Regions from separate parts of the Homo sapiens genome. Here all the other regions are linked to region 2. Evidence: promoter capture Hi-C in 16 types of primary human blood cells and fetal thymus (Javierre and others, 2016). All regions are on one chromosome and are shown on one strand. The core of a region is centred on a gene start or on the middle of the fragment in contact, and the rest is flanking DNA. Distances in the headings are between cores, read along the strand shown. Region 1 has its middle 4.5 kb from the start of ANXA6. Region 2 holds the start of GPX3 (glutathione peroxidase 3). Region 3 overlaps GM2A (ganglioside GM2 activator).

What was found. Contacts are between HindIII fragments. The CHiCAGO score rates a contact against its expected background, and 5 or more counts as called.
Region 1: a contact is called between a fragment that was not itself captured here and the fragment with the promoter of GPX3 in region 2, in 1 of 17 cell types (M2 macrophages). The highest score is 5.7, in M2 macrophages.
Region 3: a contact is called between a fragment that was not itself captured here and the fragment with the promoter of GPX3 in region 2, in 1 of 17 cell types (neutrophils). The highest score is 5.2, in neutrophils.

The regions. Positions count from the first base shown.
Region 1 is chr5:151,160,779-151,163,813 of GRCh38, reverse strand. No RefSeq gene overlaps it. Among named protein-coding and RNA genes, the nearest start is that of ANXA6, 4.5 kb to the right of the region's middle. The HindIII fragment of the contact is 7,646 bases long and covers 1-3,035 here.
Region 2 is chr5:151,019,116-151,022,127 of GRCh38, reverse strand. GPX3 (glutathione peroxidase 3) reads right to left here and starts at 1,537. Exons shown (of 5, transcript NM_002084.5): 1 at 1,387-1,537. The coding sequence starts at 1,473. RefSeq lists an enhancer at 1-92. The HindIII fragment of the contact is 15,890 bases long and covers 1-3,012 here.
Region 3 is chr5:151,259,088-151,262,441 of GRCh38, reverse strand. GM2A (ganglioside GM2 activator) reads right to left here. Exons shown (of 4, transcript NM_000405.5): 2 at 2,526-2,687. Among named protein-coding and RNA genes, the nearest start is that of GM2A, 7.6 kb to the right of the region's middle. The HindIII fragment of the contact is 6,835 bases long and covers 1-3,354 here.

The sequences.
Region 1 (3,035 bases), core at 486-2,985, 140 kb before region 2:
TACACATTAGGTACAGTGTACACTGCTTGGGTGACAGGTGCACTAAAATCTCAGAAATTACCACTAAAGAACTTATCCATGTAATGAAAAACTACTTATTCCCCAAAAACCATTGAAATAAAAAACAATTTTAAAAATACAGTGTTGGACAGTGAAACCTCGTCTCTACCAAAAAATGAAAAAAATTAGCTGGACGTGGTGGTGCACACCTGTAGTCCCAGCTACTCCGTAGGCTGAAGCATCAGGATAGCTTGAGCCCAGGAGGTTGAGGCCGAAGTGAGCTGAGATTGTGCTACTGCTCCAGCCTGGGGGACAGAATGAGACCCTGTCTCAAAAAAAAAAAAAGAATGAAAAAAAAAAAGTTGGGCATGGTGGCTCACATTATACCAATGCTGGTGTAATCCCAGCATTTTGGGAGGCTGAGGCAGGAGGATGGCTTGAGCATAGGAGACCAGCCTAGGCAAGATGGTGACACGCCATCTCTACAAAAAATACAAAAATTAGCTGGGCAGGTGGCATACACCTGTAGTCTCAGCTACTTGGGAGGCTGAGGTGAGGGGATCACCTGATCCTGGGGAGGTCAAGGCTGCAGTTGAGCCATGATCACACCACTGCAGTCCAGCCTGAGTGACAGAGTGAGACCCTGTCTCCAACAACAACAATAAAACAGTGTTGGGCCTACAGCTTCCTCTGTATTTTAGATTATTTTCTTAGGATTGATTCCTGTAAGTGATGATTAGCTCAAAGAGAATGAGCAGTATATTAGTGTTTACTCCTACTTGCTGCTGTAGCTCAGGAATTAAGGCCCTGGGCTCTGCAGTCAAGGGAATCTGGCTTTCAATCCTGCCTCAGTCACGTGGGCTGAATTTGGGCAAAGATCAAAAATTTCAGTTACTTTTATTGCAAATTAAGAATACAAATAGCCCTGACATTTGTACACTACAGCCCATTCTGTCTCCAAACATTGCTGCAGGAATTCTCCCTTCTCTCTCCTCCATCAATTTTTTTACCTTCTATATGATAACTCCCACCAGCATACAAATATGCTGTTATGTCTTCAATCTTTAAAAAAATCAAACAAAAGCCCTTCTCTTGACACCAATTCCCTTGCCAGACACTGCCTCATTCCCTTGCTGGCCTTCGCAGCAAAACTCCCAGAATAAGTAGTTTAGGCTTTTTATCTTACACCGTTCCCATCAGGCCTTTACCCCCAACATTCTGCAATTCACAGCAAGAGATAAGTTGGCTTTCACATTGCTAAACCCAATGATAGATTTGTAGACCTTGTCCTACTTTACCTAAAAGCAGCATTTGACACACCTGATCACTCCCTTATTTTTCACTTTGCTGCCACATTCTCCTGGGGTAGTTTCCTCCCATCTTACTACAATCTCCTTCCCAGTCACCTTTGCTGAATTCTTTTCTTCTCCCCAACTCTTTTATTTTATTTTTTGAGAGTCTCACTCTGTCTCTCAGGCTGGAGTGCAATGGTGCCATCTCACTGCAATCTCCACCTCCTGGGAGTGATTCTCCTGCCTCAGCCTCCCAAGTAGCTGGGATTACAGCATGCACCACCACGTCCAGCTAACTTTTTGTATTTTTAGTAGAGATGGGGTTTAACTATGTTGGTCAGGCTGGTCTTGAACTCCTGGCCTCAAGTGATCCACCCACCTCAGCCTCCCAAAGTGCTGGAATTACAGGCATGAGCCACCGGGTCCGGCCTCTCCCCAAATGGTAACATAAGAGTGTCTCAGACTCGGTCCTTAGCATCGTGGGTGATCAGCAACTATTTGGGGCTGGCGGTACAGGCAGTAAGAAGAATTTACCAAGGCAGTTGTAGGTAAAGAAAGGCAGATTTATTAGAGAAAGTATGAAAATACATTGCTGCCAGACGTGGTGGCTCATGCCTATAATCCCAGCACTTTGGGAAGCCGAGGTGGATCACGAGGTCAGGAGTTTGAGACCAGCCTGATCAACATGGTGAAAACCCATCTCTACTAAAAATACAAATATTAGCCAGGTGTGGTGGCACGCACCTGTAATCCCAGCTACTCAGGAGCCTAAGGCAGAAGAATCGCTTGAACCCGGGAGGCGGAGGTTGTGGTGAGTCGAGATAGTGCCACTGCACTACAGTCTGGGCGACAGAGTGAGACTTCATCTCAAAAGAAAAACAGAAAAGAAAAGAAAATACGTTGCAAGGGTGCAACGGGCAAGTTAGCAAAACAGAAGCTAACTGCAAGAAAACAAAATCTGGCTAAGGATTTTATAGGATGGTGCTTGTGCTGTGTGCTGAAGAGGGCTTTGTGCAGTACTGATAACATCAAGGGTGCAGGGAGCTTGCGTGCATTTTTCTATCAGGTGAGGGTCTGGCAATAGCTGGGCGCAGATAAGATTGTGAGTTATTCGCACAGGAGGGCTATGCATCCTGGGCCATGAAGAAAGGCAGACTTATAGCTTATCTGCTTTCTCTTTTTGCTTTCCCTTGGTCCTGCCAGCCTGACTCCTTTTGCCGAACTAGGACTCCATATTTAGTTCTCTTCTCCCTTAAGGATCTCATCTCTTGAACTCCAGACTTGACTAGCCAACTGCGTACTTGACATCTCCTGTTGGGTGTCTAATAGAAATGTTCAACAAACTGGTCAAAAACTGAACTCCTGATCTTTTCCCCACTTCTAATTCCCAAAATTGCTTTCCCTGCAGTCTTGCTCATTTCAGTTGATGGTAACTCCATCCTTCCAGTGGCTCAGGCCAGGATCCCTGAAGCCATTCTTGACTCTTTCTCATCTCCCACCTGATCCTTCGGAAATCATGTTCAACCTTCAAATACATCCCATCTCCAACCACTTCCCCCACCTGCATTTATACCAGCCTGTCTCTTGCCTGGATTACTGCAAAATCTCCTAGCAGATCCCCTTCTTCTACTCTTCCCCCAACAGTATTCAGTATTTCCAACACAGGAGACTTCAGTGACCCTTTAAAAAATATGTCTTGGCCAGGTGCGGTGGCTCACACCTGTAATCCCAGCACTTTGGGAG
Region 2 (3,012 bases), core at 288-2,787:
CTGAGTTGGGGATTATGAACAGGGATGGATAAAAAGGAGGGGACTTGGACGAAGTGGCTTCACATCCATTTAGACTGACTCCAAGGAGAGGCTGATTAATCGGATTTAGGCTGAGGACCGAAAAGGGGTGAGTAACATGGAAGGAACCCTGTGCTTCCAATGGGCTTCCTGAGAAGTGGACAGAATTTTGGAAACGGAATCCTAGACTCATAAGAACTTAATTAAAGTGAAGACCCAGAGGATTTTAGAAACAAAAGCTCAGAGCTTGCAAAAATGTGAGTTATGCATGTTGGGAAGTTGGAGACAGAAATCGCTCGCTTTGAGTCTATCCCTACACCTGGCTTCTGCCTCCTTCCCCACCCACTCCCACTCCCTGGGTAGAGGAGAGGTCTACAGAGCCCACCCCAGTACATACTGTCAAAGGAGATAAGCATGCTGGGTCATCCCACTCCTGGCCTCAGTATCCCCACTCCAGGTGTGGGCCACACACCTGCTGGAAATAGACTGAGGCTCTAGAGAATTCTACCTCTTCTTCTGAATTAGCAGTCCCCAGCTTTCTCCAACTACCAGGTTTCCTCAGGCTAATGAGGACAGTGGGTCCTGGGTAGTGAGGCTGCCCCAGGGGAGGAAATTTCAGAGAACAGCTTGTGGATTTTTCAGCTTCTCCAAGCATCCCCTCTGAGGCCCTCAGCTTCATTGTGCCCCATGCACTCCCACCCCCAAACTCTCCCCTGCAGATGGAGAAACGGGGGTCCAGGAGCAGGTAAGGACTCAGGGTCCTGAGTGTTCTGCACTGTCACTCCAGAGCTCTTTCTAGCACAGATCTCTGCCTCTTCTACCAATGCCCTGAATCCAAGTGGCCATTTCTACCTGCCTGTATCATTCTTGGGGTAGAAGAGCCCCCCACAGCAGTTCTTCAGGACCAGGACCACCCAGCTGCCTCTCTCCTTTCTCCTTGTCTCTCTCCCTGGGAACTTGCACAGCCCACCCAGACGCTGGGCATTTTTTTCTGTGACGCCCTCCCTCTTAGGCCCTACTGAAGGGGAGCAGCTCAGGCACGGAGGTGACATAGATGTAGCAAGGCGACCCTCGAGGTGGCAGTGGGGAGAAAGTGCGAGCTCGGGGAGAGAGACCTTCCTCCCTTAGTCATTCTGCCCGCCTGAAGCACCAGGTCTCGGCTCTCCAACAGATGGAACTACGAGACGACGACGGTCGGGGGCGGGGTCCCGGCGGCGGAGGGGGCGGCAAAAGGGGTTCAGGAGGTCTCTCGCACCTGGGGATTGCCCATCTGGCGGGGAGCCTGGGAAAAGGGGTGCATTGCACTGAGCGCTGGACACCGAGGGGCTAGGTTTTTTCTCCCGGCCCCCGGCCCGGAGGCTCACTCACCTTCGACTTCTCTTGTCCCCGGCTCTGCGAGACGAAGCCGGCCAGGAGCAGGGAAAGCAGGCAGGACGCCTGCAGCAGCCGGGCCATGGCGGGGTGGGGGCACACTCAGGGTCGCCTGAGCCGCTGCCTGATCCCTGGCCACCGTCCGTCTGAGGTGTCCGGCGCTCCCAGCCACCTTTCAAGCCCTCGGGTGTGACCAATCCGCGGCCAAGCCGAGACCCTTGCAGCCAATCGCTAGGCGGCTGGGATTTCAGGGGCGGGCGCGACTTGCCCTCAGCTCCCCACCTCCCCGTCCCGGGGCGACAGTGACATAAGCAAATCTGGGCAGAGAGGTGGAAGTCAGGTCCCTGTGGACGTGGGAGGCGGTCCCTTCCTCTTTTGGCTCCAAAGTGCGAAAGGAGGCAGACACAGCGGTCTCCATTACAGCCAGGGCAAGGGGGCTAATAGCTCCCTAGAACTGATGGAAGTCTCCATTCTGGGAAGCATTTCTTATTCCTATCGAGGTTTTAAAAACACCTGGCGATGGTCCTCTGGAAATTGAGGGTTTAAAATTTCAGCAAGAGCTGAAGTTAAACTTCCAGAAACATTTACTATATATAGGTTTAGTGCTTAAGAAACAAAGAGTGGGTGTCCTGGGATTTTGAAAACCCCATTCTGGGTAGGGCATTAGGACTGTAGGGACAGAGAAGGTGGGGTGCCTTTCCTCCCCATCATAAGGATCACAGCTGACATGCCTGTAGAAAAAGGTTAGCAAGAGAAAAGCATAACGATTTATTTAATTAAAGTTTTCTGTGACATGAGAGTCTTCAGAAATGAAGACCCAAAGACTCAAGGAAAACTCTATTTTTAGGCTTAGATTCTATGAAGACCATGGAAATGCGCAGAAATGTGAGTGGGGAAAAAGGGAATGGTCTAATAGTAATAAACTGAGTGGGAAACCCAGCAAGGCTTGTCTGTTCGTATTCTTCTTGGCCTATCTGTGGCCAAACCACCTGGCTTAGAAGCAGAAAATAAATTTGCTCCCTGTGTAGTCTTTAACATGTTGCAGTTACTCTCTGGGCCTCAGTTTCCTCAGCTATGTAATGATGGGATTGATTAGTGATCTCCAGTGCCCTTCTGGCTCTGGCTAGATGACTTGTTTCTAAAGTAAGTGACAGACGGAGACCAGGAGTCCTTTGAGAATAGGGCCCATAATCACCACCTGGCACAGGGCCTAGCACACAAGAGATGTAAAGTATTTGCTGACTTAATCATTCATTACATTAAAAAAACAAAATCTCCATGGAACACTTAGGATCAGACCAGGCAGTTCTAGGGCTGGGCTGTCTAGGTATGATCCCGTTCACAGATGGGGAATGTGATGGAATCAGTCTCAAATCTCTCTGACCACCAGAGTCAACTGGGAAGCCTTTAATACAGATTCCTGGACCCCACTTTGGAATCACTGCATTAGAATCTCTAGGGGCAGAAGCTGAAAATCTGTCTTCAGACATGTTCTAAGGTTATTGTGAGGCAGTTGGCCTGGCTGTAGCCTTGGTAGTGTGAGTCCTAGGATTAAGTGCCTTCTGGAACTTTCTTCTGACCAAGAAATGCCTTGAGAAACCATACCTTTACTATGATTAAAGG
Region 3 (3,354 bases), core at 18-2,517, 240 kb before region 2:
TTTCCACATGATTTTCTAACTCAGGTATTGCTCAAGGAAAGCCCATAACGTAGGAGCTGTGATTAAGACAGGTCTAAGGATAATGATAGAAACACAGAATCCAAATCAGGAATCTTCTAAATAATTAACACAAAACTGGTACTAGAATAGATCTGGATCAGGAACAGACTGAAGGGCATAGAGGAGCATCATATAAAGGTAGCAATTTTAGCTAGAGAGGAAAGGACCATATTAAATGGTGTTGCAATGGATATATGAAAAGTCTTCATTGTTTTCTAAGAAAATATAAAAACATACACCCCTAAAATAGTCAATGGATGGAAACAAACAGGTTATTCCCAAAGTAAATACAAAAGGCAAATAAACTTATGAATAGACATCTACGCTCACTAGGAATGATGCAGGTTTATTCAAACATTGGGAGGCACTTTGGCAAAATGTATCAAAAGACCTAAAAAGTGTGTATCTAGAGAATCAGAAAATTATAAAAAGATGTACTATAAGAATAATTTCTACAAAGGTGGTTACTACAGCAAAACAAAAAACAAACAAACAAAAAAAACCCTCTGGCCAGGTACAGTGGCTCAAGCCTATAATCCCAGCACTTTGGGAGGCTGAGGCAGGTGGATTGCCTGAGGTCAGGAGTTCAAGACCAGCCTGGATAACATGGTGAAACCCCATCTCTACTAAAAATACAAAAAGTAGCTGGGCATGGTGGCAGGTGTCTGTAATCCCAGCACTTTGGGAGGCCGAGGCAGGCACATTGCCTGAGGTCAGGAGTTCAAGACCAGCCTGGCCAACATGGTGAAACCCCATCTCTACTAAAAATACAAAAATTAGTGGGGCGCAATGGCAGGTGCCTGTAATCCCAGCACTTTGGGAGGCTGAGACAGGAGAATCGCTTGAACCCGGGAAGTGGAGGTTGCAGGGAGCTGAGATTGCGCTACTGCACTCCAGCCTAGGCAACAGAGTAAGAACCTGTCTCAAAACAAACAAATAAACAAACAAACAAATAAAAACTACCCTGGAAACAAACTAAATGTTCAACAATAGACTTGTTATATAAATTATGAAAGATCCACATCAGAATATTTCTGCCATTAAAAATGATTGGGTGGGCTGAGCAAGGTGGCTCACGCCTATAATCCCAACATTTTGAGAGTCTGAGGCAGGAGGATTGCTTGAACTCAGGAGTTTGAGACCAGCCTGGGCAACACAGGGAGGCTCCGTCTCCATAAAAAATAAAAAAATTAGGTAAGCATGGTGACATGAACCTGTGGTCCCAGCTACTCAGGAGGCTGAGGTGGGAGGATCCCTTAAGCCCAGGAGGTCAAGGCTGCAGTAAGCCATGATCACACTACTGCACTCCAGCCTGAGCAACAGAGTGACACACTGTCTCTAAAATTACAATACATTAAAATAATAAAATAATGATTGGATAAAAAAAAATTGAATAAGTAGAGCCACCTAATCCTTGGAAAGATATGGACATATAGTATGAGGCAAAAAAAATAGCAAGTATAATAGCACATATCATATAATCCCATGAGTATAAGTGTGTATATATTTACAAACACATAAAAATTCTGATGGGATATATAAAGAGCAAACACTGACTATCTCTAGGATTTAGATTACTGGAGGACATTTACAATGAGCACTGCCTATTATCATACATATCCATTAAAAATAAATATGTGTGTTATGTATGTAATTGTATGGGGGAAAGTTGCAAAGAATATCCTATAAGATGTTAAAAGTGCTTATCCCTTATCACTAGGTAGTGAGATTTCAAGTGATTTATTTTATTTATTTATTTATTTTGGGACAGAGTTTCACTCTGTCACCCAGGCTGGAGTGCAGTGGTGCGATCCTGGCTTTCTGCAACCTCTGCCTCTTGGGTTCCAGCAATTCTCCTACCTCAGCCTCCTGAGTAGCTAGGATTACAGGCACATGCCACCACGCCCAGCTAATTTTTGTACTTTTAGTAGAGATGGGGTTTCACTATGTTGGCCAGGCTGGTCTCAAACTCCTGACCTCAAAAGATCCACCCACCTCAGCCTCCCAAAGTGTTGGGATTACAGGCATGAGCCACCACACCTGGCCTATTTTATTTATTTTTTGACCACTTGTGTTTTCTAAAGTGACTATATATTACTGGCTAATTGGTATATCAATTTTATAATTAACAACAAAACCAAATTGGCCAACCAGAGCTGTCAGACAATAATGAGCAGTTGGCCACCAGGCCCAGAGAAGGCCAGGACGCTTCTGCCAGGTGCAAGGTATCCGTCACTCCTGCCCTCACCAGGAAGTTGCTGGCGCTGACATCAGAGATTCCTTTCAATCTTATGATCCTGAGATTCCATGAACCTGTGAAAGAGTGTCTGAATCTACATGTCCTGTACTATTCTCTGGGAATCCAGGATTCTGAAATTCTTCACAGTTCCCCAAGCATACATGCCCCAGTACCCCTGCTGGCCAGACCCTCGCACCTCCCCTTCTCCACCCACCCCCAGGCTCACCTTCAGAGGAGAACTCAGGGGGACACTGGTGCTGCCCATGACACTGAGGGTCACATTTCCAGGAACGATGATGGGGTCAGGCTCCAGAGTCAGGCTTCTGATCACCGCAGGGTCCTTCCCTTCATCACAGTTATCCCAGGAAAAGCTACTGAGCTGGGATGGCTGGGGACAATCAGGCAGCAAGGAAGGAGAAGAAGAAAAAGGTTGACAAAAGAAACTATCACAGATCACAGGAAAAATGAGCTCCTGGCAGAGTGACCTTGGGTGAGGCACCCCCGTCCCTGAGCCTCATCTATGAGACTCCATACCTATGAAGCTGGGATAACACTTATCCTACTCATTTTATAGGCAGGACTAAACTAAAAGACTCAAAAGACATAATCTCCCAAAAGTGTATTGTAAACTATAAGGCAGGATATGATAGACCTGGAACTTCCAAACAGGAGACTGACCTAATTGGCCTTTGGTGGGCACCTTCTCTGACTTCCCACCTCCCTGCTGCCCACTCCTCTCCAGCCAGCCTTGGAATCCCAGCAGAGGGCAAGCTCCTGGAGGATTCACCTCTGCAGCCCACACCCAGGACCTTGTTCATGTCACACCCCGTGCCCAACCCAGAGCCAGGAACAATGGGAAACACAAAACACAATGGGAAATCTAACAGCATCTGAAATCCCACTCTCAAGGGGCAGGTGATTAACTCAGAAAGGAATAGGACACTCATGAAAAGATCCCCAGTGGATCACTTGCTGATGAATAATCCCCAGTGGACTTCCCCAGTCCTAACCAGTGTCTTCTTCCCATCCCTCTTCTCATGCCACATGCCCACTTG